Linked DNA regions of Homo sapiens: region 1 is linked to region 2. The links are contacts of gene promoters, found by promoter capture Hi-C in blood cells and fetal thymus (Javierre and others, 2016). All regions are on one chromosome and are shown on one strand. The core of a region is centred on a gene start or on the middle of the fragment in contact, and the rest is flanking DNA. Distances in the headings are between cores, read along the strand shown.

The links. Contacts are between HindIII fragments. The CHiCAGO score rates a contact against its expected background, and 5 or more counts as called.
Region 1: a contact is called between a fragment that was not itself captured here and the fragment with the promoter of TAF5L in region 2, in 1 of 17 cell types (total B cells). The highest score is 5.8, in total B cells.

What each region holds. Positions count from the first base shown.
Region 1 is chr1:230,142,991-230,148,959 of GRCh38, forward strand. The region is part of intron 1 of GALNT2 (polypeptide N-acetylgalactosaminyltransferase 2); the gene reads left to right. Among named protein-coding and RNA genes, the nearest start is that of GALNT2, 79 kb to the left of the region's middle. The HindIII fragment of the contact is 1,875 bases long and covers 3,270-5,144 here.
Region 2 is chr1:229,624,256-229,629,923 of GRCh38, forward strand. It overlaps TAF5L (TATA-box binding protein associated factor 5 like), which reads right to left and starts at 1,867. Exons shown (of 5, transcript NM_014409.4): 1 at 1,630-1,867. URB2 (URB2 ribosome biogenesis homolog) reads left to right here and starts at 1,992. Exons shown (of 10, transcript NM_014777.4): 1 at 1,992-2,101; 2 at 3,366-3,504. The coding sequence starts at 3,379. RefSeq lists enhancers at 776-825, 2,486-2,565 and silencers at 1,316-1,505, 1,596-2,295. The HindIII fragment of the contact is 3,723 bases long and covers 1-3,409 here.

The sequences.
Region 1 (5,969 bases), core at 2,957-5,456, 520 kb after region 2:
GCCTGCAGGCTGGGCCCATCCCTGGTTCAAACTGTTTTTAGGGGAGTGGGCTGGAGAGCTGCCCAAGTCCATGTCTGAGCAGCTGGTGAAGAGAATGGTGCTGGCTCCTCTAGGCTTCTGGTACTCCTGGAGCCTGAGTCCAGAGACTGAACCTCCTAGTCCTTCCCTTGCAGTGGATTCTGGGAATTGGGGTACTGGGCACTGTCAGCCCCATTCCCTGTGAGCATCTGGGCTTTGGGCAGGGTCCTCACTCTCTCTGGCTTTCAGTTTCTGCGTGTGAAAAATCAGGGGAATCCGCAGCCTGAGAGCTTCTCTGGAAGGTGTAGTTAGTTTTTGGTAAGAGATGTCCAGTTGTTTGCAGCAGCTGCTAGGAATGAAATGCAGAACTGGAGACATTCGAGAGCAGAAGAGCAGAAGCAGCAACAAGGTGTGGTGTGTGCAGGTTCCACAGTCACACAGCACCGCTGCCCATCCTTCATGGGGTCCTGAAGTCCCATGCAGAACTGCGGGGTGGTCCTGCTGAAGTTCTTGTGGATGCTGCTGCTGACCTGTAAAGAGGCATGGCAGGTGCAGTAGGGGCCAAGGAGAAAGAGGTCGTCTGTCGGCCTGAACACTTCCTTGGTTTTTTCTTGGCTTTACGCAGCATGTTGCTTTTCACATGGGAAAGTGTCAGCCCCACGCTCTTATTAAAGCATTGAGTTCTTCCAGGCCTCTGTTGCTGCTCTGATAACTGAAAGGGTATTGTGCTTGTCTTTATCTGCCACACGCACGTGGGTGACATTGATGCGCCAACCAGATGCCCCCAGCTGTGACAGGCAGAATTTAACTGTCGCCCTGCTCAGCGATCACCAGCTCATCTTGTTTGTCCTGATGATGGTCCCTCCTGTTATTTGGCTGTTTGTCAGATATCAAGAATTTTCTTTGTAATTAGGCTTTAATTGCTAACTTTTAAATTCTAATCACTTTCAAAATAGCACTCTTTTAAATGGAGGTGACACATCTTAGGACATTCAGAACGATACCTCCTATATTTGCCAGAACATATTCCACTTACAAAAGCAGCACCTGCGAGTGCTTGACAGCTGTGTCGTGGGAGGTGGCTTGATGCAGATCCTCCTGGCCACACCTGGATCGGGAGGCAGAGCAGGTTGGGGTAGGAGACGTCTCCGTGCTGCCTTCTGGGCCACATGTCAAAGAGTTGACACTGTTATTTCACAACCCTCTCCCTGTATCTAGAGTGACCATGCTATTTAGTGTCCAGACCTGAGTGCTTTTGAGAATGAAAGGGGAAATGTTAATAATTACATGGAGACAGTAGTTAGTATCCAGAACATTTGTCCTGTTTTGTGCCTGAAACCAAGAAAGACTACTACACTCGGCTTCTCTATAACCAGAGGATCACAGAGCCAGCGTCACCCGCAGCACCAAATGATAAAAGCTCAGAGTAGCCGGTGCCTGCATGTGAAGGGCGGTTTGTGTTCCTCGCTACTGGAAGTAGGATTATGGTTGTAATAATTATGTCGACTTCAGTATTTTTTCCTTAAGAAAGTTTTATTGTGCCAACATCTGCAACAATAGACGCTGTATACTCTTAGGTACCAAGCACCCACCAGGATTTCGCCATGCTTATTTTGTCTTTTCCTGTTTATGCCTGTGTGTGTGTGGTGGGGAGTTAGGGGTGGTAGTGGTGTGTTTTAAAGCAAATCTCGGATGTTATTTTTCTTCTTGTGATGCTTACTTCAAAGTAAGTACCACTAACCTTGTGCCAGTGTTCTTATGTGGGGTGAGGATTAATTAAAGACTAAGGGATTTGAAGAGCAACTATAAAGTATTAAAAAGCCTGGGAGTAGGTGGTTGATTTGGGGCAGAGGTTATGGTGTTGCTGATACAGTGGCTTCTAAGCTTCTTGTGGGAAGGATGAGTTTATCTTTGGCAGCCTTCAGTGATCTCCCCGCAGGCCTTGAGGTGAGATGTGTAGTGATGTCAGGCTCCTCTCTTGCTTGGTAACCTACAAACCAAGCAAGGTGAGAGGCCCGGCGGAGCATCCCAAGGGTCTCCCGATGGCCACTCCAGAGCTGCGTCATCTGTTTTCTGCTGCAGCATCTGCAGGCTCTCACTCATCCCGTTACACTTAGAGCGACCCATGTGCCTGTGGGCCCCTCCTGCCTCAGTACCAAGACTGTCCTTGGCACCCCCTCCCCAACCCCATTCTCAGATCGCCCCCTGTGTTGCTTGTTAGCAGGCAGGTTCCAGTGCAGACTGGCCGAATCTGAATTTCTCAGTGAGCGTCTCAGAAATCTGCACTGTCAGCTCCCCTGACCCCTAAGTTTGTGGGGTTTCCTGGCCAGGCCTCAGACTCTGGCAGTCGGGCCTGGGCCTTCTGAGGGGGTTTGTCCTGGAAATCCTGTCTTCCCCCAAGGGAAGCTCCCCCAAAGGAACCCTTTTAGGTGTCTGGTGTTTGAAGCCAGTCCCCCATTTCCCTCTGTTTTTGTTGTTATCACATACTGTAGGGATGGTTGTAATAAATACAGACTTTTAGAGAATGCAGCCAACTTGGTGGTTCTCTGGGGATTCCTCCGCTGAGGTCGGGGCTTAGACATTTACACGGTTTTCTTTTGCCTTTTGAGATTCTTATCCACAGCTAGTTGGTTGAAAGCCACCCACCTTGGCATAGTGCCAATGGGGGCCTTGCCCCGTGTGGTGCCTGATGCAGCACAGCAGGACGTCAGGCAAGCCCAGACGTCAGGCAGGCCCAGAACGTCACCTGTCTTCTTGGTGGCAGTGGTTCCATCTGGACTTGGAAATACCATGTTTGAAACAAGGTCCCTGTAATTACTTAATTGTAAAGAAATGAGAGGTAGCATTTCGGCTTGCTTGCCTGCCTGCCCAGCCCCTCTGGGAAGTGTGCCTTTCAAAGATGCTCGCCGCTTGCATTTTTATTATCCTGTGATTAAGAGAGAAGACGTTGGTCCACTCCTTGTCCAGGCTGCTTTGGGCTGTAGTGGACCTGCTTCTGGTGTTCCTTGAGGTTCTGCTTTCTTGTGAGGGTTCTTTTTTCTCTCTGCTTCTTATTAATCTGTAGCTGCTTATGTTTTTTGGCTTGGCTAAAAATAAGCACTTTTCCTTCTTCCTCCTGGGTTAGGAGTGAAAAAGACAGTCTTTGTATTTCTGCTGTTTGGAGTTGGATGTGAGAAATTGATAAGCTAAAAGACTGTAGTTATTTTTCCCCTCCCTTTTCATGTATCTCGTTAGGGAGCCCTGGAGGAGGAAGCTTTGGGAGGAGTCCCGCGCCTTCTCTCCCGCACCAGGTCTGAGAACTTGTTCGCAGCTATTCATGTCTTATGTGTGCCTGGTCACCCCTCTTCCTCTTTCAGTTTTGTTTTTTTGTTAATAGCTAAATCACATTTCTGGTTATTTCCTTAATATGGACAGTATTTTCATTTCCTCTGGAGGTGTTGATCGGAGGCCACTGCCTGCCTCCCTTCCTGACCCGGTTGGAGTGAAGCAGGTGTGGGCTCAGAAAAGCCTGCTTGGGAAGCACTCCTGTGTTCATTTACAACTCAGCCACCTTATACCAACCATACACTGCACACTCAGTATTAGATGAGAAAGGAGCAAACTCGGCTCTCAGGGAGCTGGGGCATTTAGGAAAAGGAAACAAATTAGTATAGTAAGATGCATTAATGAAACGGCATTGGGACTAACCTGGAGGGATGGCCCAGGTTGCAGGGGGAGGGGTGGGAAGGAGAGAGGGCATAGGGTGGGTGTCGTGCATGTAAGTGAAATGGCATGCCAGGGGCTGCACGCACCTCAGAGCGGCCCCACGTGTTGGCGGGGAGGCGTTATGCTGGAAACGTGACCTGTGAGGAGGTTAGGTAAGAACCACGCAGGGTCCTGTATGCTGCAGTCCAGAGCTGGCTACCGCCTGCACTGTCAGATCTCGGTGTCTGTCCCGCTGGCCGCACTGTGTGGGAGTCGTGGCAGGGGACAGACAGGAGGCAGGTGGGCCACTAGAGCCCAGGTGAGAAGGGAAGCAGGCCTTCAGCTGTGGCAGGGTGAATTGGGAAGGAGGGGCCAGAGTTAGAGAAACAGGAGGCAGTGTCTGCATATCTGGCCAGCTGGTGAGATGTTGGGGATGAGGGGTGGGCAGTGCCAAGCTGGGGGAGATTTCAGACCATGATTCTCAAAAGAATGCTCTCTGATTTGACAGCATCCTCAATTTGGAGGAATTACCTTTGTGTTCCTTCCAAGATGTTGTCCCTGGACTGATGAACTGAAACCCTTTCCTCTGGCATTTTCTAGTTTCCAAGATCGACCGTGAATTATAAAGACTTCATTTTATTCAACATTCATTGTGTTCAAACCTTCTAGCTGAAAGCCGCCTACTTTGGGGTTAAGGTGTGGGTTTGCCTATATTCACTTTGCTGTCCTTGACTCTTGGCCAACATTCCTAGAGCCCCTGCCACGGGACTGCTGTGGGCTGAGACTGGTGTCGCCTCTCCCTTGAAAGCATGGCCTGCTCTGCCGTGTGCCTGGCTTGGCCACTGGTTCTCCTTTCCTGGTCCCGCGGGGGCTTTTCTTTTCTTCTCTGTTGTAAAATAATCTCAGGCCAGGGCCACTCCTGGCCTACTCTTCGATTCTGCGAACAGTGGCTGGCTAGTGGTGTGGCCACATTCCCCTGCAGTGGTTGAGGCTAAACAGTCACTGTTGAGAGAAGCTGCCTTCCTCCTCCAAGAGTCCCTCCTTCCTGCCCTGTTGCCCTCTTCCCGTTGAAGGAGAGCTTCTGTCTCCTGAGTGAGGGCCTCAGCTCTGCCTGTGGGTCACCTCTGGCTCCCAGCCTGGAAGGCATTGCAGGCTTCATGAAGAGAGCTCGTCTTTAGCTGCTATTTCTAAGCATGATTGCTTGTTGGAGGTTGGCAGTGGTAGATGCTCCTAGCACACGTCCACACCTTCAGGGCAAACGCTCTGTCCCCAGACACTGTCCCTGTTTAGTTAGTTTCCTAAACTATGATCACTCAGCAACCTCGAGGATAGTCACTGTATTATTACATACAGGTGCAGCCCTCTTACATACCTGTGTGTGTGTCCAGCCCCACTGGACACATGCCTCCCACTTGCCCACACTCTTCCCCATCCCGCTTTAAAGCTTCAAATCTGAAAAGACAGTGGCGCTGCGTGGCTGAGAGCCACGAGGTGGACTTTAGGTGAAGGGCTGCCCACCGGCACAACCAGATCAGTGGCCAGCTCGGGGCGTGCACAGTGCACTCAGAGGGAGAGCCCTGTGGCACTGCGTTATTTTCCTCCTAGAGCTGAAGCCAGAAACCTGATAGGGAAAGGGGGCGTTTTCAGGGCTGGAGTAGTTCAGCACAGTCCCTTCCTCACTGTGGACTCCTTTTCTAAATCTGCAAGTCACAGGTAACCTGGGTGCATCCAACAGGTCCCACAGCCCTGGAAAGCCCTCGTTTAACACAAGTGCTCTCTGTCCTTGCTGCAGAGGCGGCTCCACGCCTTGCTTCTAGCGGTCCCTCACTCGCCTTCCGGAGTTAACTCCAGGGTGTGGGTCAGCCTTTTCAAGGGGTTTTGTTTTCTTTTTTTTTCTTTCTTTCTATTTTTGTTTTTGAGACAAGGTTTGTTGCCCAGGCTGGAGTGCAGTGGTGTGATCACAGCTCACTGCAGCCTTGATGTCCCTGGGCTCAGGTGATCCTCCCACCTCAGCCTTCCGAGTAGCTGGGACTACAGGTGTGCACCACTATGCCCAGCTAATTTTTGTATTTTTAGTAGAGACAGGGTTTCGCTCTATTGCCCAGGCTGGTCTCAAACTCCTGGGCCCAAGAGATCCACCCACCTCACCCTCCCAAAGTGTTGGGATTACAGGCATAAGCCACCATACCCAGCCCCACTCCTCCCCACCTTTTTTTTAAACAGGGCCTCGCCCTGTCACCCAGGCTGGAGTGATCACAGCTCATTGC
Region 2 (5,668 bases), core at 617-3,116:
AAAACTATTCCAAGATACACTAATTTAATTTGTTGTTGATGACAAAGAAAAATACTCAAAACAAGCCCACCTTTTAATTTTCTAGCTTAGCGCTGATTTTTAAGGCAGGAAGAATTTACGATTCATTAAAAAATTAGCATATATTCCATTTAACGCAAAAACTTAGGACTACAGGGAACCTAGAAGGTATTTTGCCAAAAAGGAAACGATAATAGCTAACATTTAGCTATTTTCATACACATCATTCTTTTTCTGGGTACCTTTAAAAAGGTCGTTTTTTGGGAGGCTGAGGCGGGAGGACTGCTTGAGCCCAGGCCTGGGCAACATAGAGGCACCCTGTCTCTTAAAGATAAAAAAAAATCCACGTTTAAGTTATTCCTTATCATCGCATTTTATAGATGAGGAAACTACAGTTCAGAGAGGTTATGCAGATGGCTACATGGTTTCCATCCTAGGTCTACTGTCACCAAGCTCTATCCACTACATTATGCTGTTCCAAAGTTTAAAGATGTGGCCAGATGCATTTAACCTATTAAGCACAAAACTCCCTTTCCTACTCCCCCTTCCAAGTAGAGCTGTGACCAGGAACTGGGGCACAGCCTCCGTGTCCTCCCCTACATCCCCAACTCAGGTGTTGGCACACTTGAATCGCCTGATATAAGACACGCTCCGCACTTAATGTTCCTCTCAGCACAGCTCCCAACTGCTTGTTAGCAGGAGTCACCATTCCGAGATTCCAATCTGCAAGGTCAGTTTAGGTACAGTAATTTAAGACAGACACTGCATGGGACTGGCACTTACCTTCTGATCCCAGAACCACAAAGACTGCGAGATCCGCATTACAACGACTTTCACAACTGATGGGAGAACTGCATGTAGCGTTCCTGCACTCCACTTCCGCTAAGTCTAAAATGACACCACTGTTTCTAACCATCCACTCACTTCGGACCAACGCCTTATCGAATACATTTTCAAAAGCCTGGCAGCTTCGCGAGCTGGAGGTGGTGAACCCGTCCCACACCATGGGCGCACCAACCTTACCTTGCTGTCATGAGGCAACGAGCCCCGAGAGACACCCTTGCAGGTAAGCACTCTCCTGCAGCAGCTAGTCTAACTCTGGCTCCCCCGTGTCACACGCGGAGATCGACTCCACACCCACCCACGCACGATCACCATGTGCAAAGTTGAATCCCGACTTCGCCGCAAAGACATTTCCTTTTCCCCTACATGCAAAGGAGCTGTGGAGCCGTGCTCCCTGCTTGGCTGTCGGGCACTGGGATACCTTCCCCGCGGGCGCCCGCCACCTCCTCCCCGAGCCCGGCATCCAACCCGCAGGACCCACCCCTGCGCAGGAACGCGACGCCAGTCCAGGTGTAGCCGCCGACTGCAGGCCACGCCGCCGGCCGCAGCCCGGGACTCGGGAGGCCGAGGGCGGAGGCGCGGCCGTCGCGCCCGCGCAGAGCCGCCCGCCGCCCCCCAGCCCCGCCTCCCGCGCCCCACCCCCACCGCCCGCCGGCGGGAGCCAAGGCGCGCCCCGCCGAGGCCCCACCGCCCCGGCCCCCGCCCGCCCGCGCGCGCGCGCGCCTCGCGACCCTCCCGGCCCTCCCCGCCCGTGCTCCCGGCACTCACTGAACATCCCAGGCGGCTCCGGCTCCCCCCGCCGCCGCCGCCTCCGGGATCGGGTTGCTTCCGCCTCCGTCGTCTCTGCCGCAGGGTCTCACTCCGACGGCCGGCTCAGCTGGGCCCCCGCGCCCCGCGCCCCGCCGCCCCCGCCGCCGCTCTGGGCGGCCGCTCCATGACTGACTGACACGGAGCGGGCCGCGGGCTGGGCCGCTCGGGCCTCCAACGCGCAACCGTCTCCGCCAATGGGCGAGGCGCCTCGGCGCTCGGCTGGCGACGCCTGGCGTGCGTGCAGCCCCTCCCCGCTGCGCCGCCGGCGTCCGGCGGAAGGAGCGCGGGTACCGGTCCCACGTGGTGGGGACGCGGGACCCGTACAGCGGCCTCCGCCGCACCGGGACAGCAGCCGCCGCCGCTGCCGCCGTCCTCCCCTGTCTACCCGGAGCTGTCTCGAGCTGAGCCCCCTACCGGGCCGGATCCCGAGGTGAGTCCCCCACCTGCGGTCAGCCCCTGCGGGCAGCCAGGTCCCGAGGTGAGTCCCCCCACCCGGGGCTGGTCCAGAGGAGATCCCCCTACCTAAGGCCGGGCCCAGATGGGGGGCCCCCCAACCCTGCCCAGTTCCGGTGCCGCCAGCAGACTCTGGGCTGGAGCGGCTTCGGCACGCTCCATTCGCGAAGGCGAACTCCCTCCTGGCTCCTAGCTGCTCTCCCCTGGTTCTTGTTGCTTGGTCTCTTTCTGCTGGGCAGGGAGTGCTGGCAGGGCTGTGCTGTCCGCCCTGGACTTCGCATTGCCCGGTAAGGGCGGTTGGAGGCCCGGAGAGCCGAACTCTGGCGGAGCCGGGGAGAGCATCTCGGTTGTCTTTGTAGCCAGTTCAGCAAACACCTGTTATGCACTTTGTAGCTGTCGCGATGGCGGTTCTATGGTATTGAACTTAGAAAGTCAGGCATCGTTGAATTCGTTTTGGACATTTTGACAAAATAGGAAAACTGACAGCACTTGACGTTCTTGTTCTCTGCAGTAGAGTGAAGGATAACTTAATTTCTAAAATGAAAACGTCTTAACGTTCCTTTTTACTATAACTTTTAGGAAACTCAAAGCCAAGTTTACCCAGTTTAATAGTAACTGTAGGTGTTTGGTATGTTTGCTACCCCCGAGATTTCATGGTTTTTTGTTTTCTATTTTTAGTCTTTTCCTTGTGCAAGTATCTCTTGTAGAGTCTTTTTTGAAGTGTATGTGCGTTGTAAATTTATACACGACTGAATAAAAGTGTTAGTGGAAGGTTACTGTTGCAGCTGAAATAACTGTATTCCTTTGGGGTTTTCTTTTTCACTTGGAGACATATTACTTTCTCCGGATATTGCTTATGTATCTTTTCCTCTTTCAATTTGAAACCATGTATGAATGACTCTTTCCACAAGTAATGTAATCACTGATTTTGGCCTTGTTGAATTCCTGAACACTCACCTTTGTGGAAGTGATGTTTGATCATAGCTGGAATACATATAGTCCATCTTCTGTGTGTGCAGTCCATCTTTTGCTTGCTTTTGTCTGAATTTCCCCCAGAAAATTCTGGAGTCAAGCATCTTGTATGTAGATTTACCCCGACAAATCTGTTGATTCATTAAAAACTTTTAAAAGAATACATATTAGGTAAACAAGATACAGTACTGCAATACTGTTGGTTTTCTGGTGCCTGCTCAGTCTGACATTGTTATAGTATTTTTTTTCCCATTGTTTTTAAATTTTAGATAAAGCCTAGCCATGGCTGCTGTTTATTCTGGCATTTCCCTTAAGCTTAAAAGCAAGACAACTTCCTGGGAAGATAAACTAAAACTAGCTCACTTTGCTTGGATTTCTCACCAGTGCTTTCTTCCAAATAAAGAACAAGTAAGTTTAATGTGAAACTCATATTTTTACAGTCTGTCAAGATAATTATCACTTTTATAATTTGGATATTGACAATTGGTTAAAATAAAAAAATAGAGAAAAAGTTGGGGAGGGAACTTTGTTGGAAGTTAAATGTAATGTCAATGAAAAAAGTAATGAGTCAGGTACTTCATTAATACATTTTTTTTTTCTGTTAAAAAACCTCATTTAGGTCGGGGACAGTGGCTCATGCCTGTCATCTCTATTTTGGGAGGCCAAAGCGGGGGATCGCTTGAGGCCAGGAGTTCTAGACCAGACTGGACAACATAATGAGATCCCATCTCTTAAAAAAATTATATATATTATATATGTATATATATGTATATATACATATATAATATATATATAATATATATAGTATATGTATAGTATATATGTATATAATATATATAATATATATGTATATATATTATACATATACATATTATATATGTATATATATTATACATATACATATTATATATGTATATAAATTAGTCAGACATGGTGGCATGTGCCTGTAGTCCTTACTACTTGGGAGGCTGAGGTGGGAGGATCCCTTGAGCCCAGGAGTTTGAGGCTGCAATGAGCTATGATTGTGCCACTTTCACTCCCAGCCTGGGCGATAGAGCAAGACCTTGTCTCTTTAAAATAAATGAACCCACCGAATTTAGCATTTCTTTTGTTTGGAGACATTATATTACAAACTAAGTATATGCATTAATGAACACATTGGGAATTAAGTTACAGAAGTTAGGTTCTGAAAGTCCATTGATAGCTGCATTTGCTTATAAATCCAAAGTGATGTTTCTTAAACTGTTGGTTGGTGGTGCTTTGTTAAAAGTCTTCCGCATTGGATAAATTGAAGGTTGGGAAGTAGAGAAATGTTAGTATTTGTATAAAGCCATTTTAGAAATGGGCTAGGTACCAAGAAAGGCATTGCATTTTGTTAGAATTTCTCAGGCTTTTTAGGCTAAAAATTAGTTGGCATGATAAACACCAGGATGACAAGCTCATGAAATTGGATTAATACACATCCAGTTGCTGTTGTCAAGGAAGACAGCACAAAATGCTTCCAAGATGGATGACATATGTAAAGCGATGATGACGTGTGGTGTGGAGAGCAGCGGTCATATCCAGTGCTTTCTACACCTGGCTGCACTTGGGAGTCATCTTGGCAGCGTGGCCATCACCTGGCAGGTGCTGCCCAGGGTGAAACAAAGGGGAGGCTCTAGCAGCCAATTGGATCAAGGTTTCTGCTGTTGTTATACTGAGAGATTTTATTCCTTCTGGCATCTGTCACTATTCATACTGTTATTGACAGTTCTGGGATTGTGAGCTTTCTTCAATGTTTTGTGAAGAGGAAACATGACACGTAATGGAACCTGTATAGATAGGCACAGTCCTCCTTTTCATAAAGCACTTGTATGATTTCATATCAACTGTGTCTGTCTCCCAGATGATGTATAAATATTAGTAGTATTAGAGGTTAAGCTGTAGGTAATGTGGGGGAAGCCAGGACACAAATCCCAGACTTTCAACTCTTAACTTACTTTTTTGCTTCGTGTGTCTGATACATTCTGTGGTCATTCTGAGCAGTCTTTGTATTTCTAACTTTTAGAACTTGGTACATGCATATCTCAGAGATACTGCAGGTTTGGTTCCACGTCACTGAAATAGATCACAATATTGTGAGTCACAGAAATTTTTTGGTTTCCTAGTGCATATAAAATTTATGTTTATACTATACTGTGGTTTGTTAAGAATGCAATAGCATTATGCCTAAAAAAAGTACATATCTTAATTTTAAAAAATTGCCCAAAAATGCTAGTGGTTATTGGTTATCTGAGCCTTTAGGGAGTCATCATGCTGGAGGGTCTTGCCTTAATGTTGATGATCTGGGTAGTGATTGCTGAAGGTTAGGGTGACTGGCAACTTCTTAAAATAAGACAACAGTGAAGTTTGCTGCATTGATGGAGCTTTTCCTTTCATGAAAGACACAGCATTTTACCCACAGTAGAACTTCTTTCTAAATTGGACTTCTCAAAACCTGCCACTGCTTTATCAACTAAGTTTAAGTTCTATTCTCAATCCTTTGTTGTCATTTCAGCAATGTTCACAGCATCTTCACCAGGAGTAGATTCCA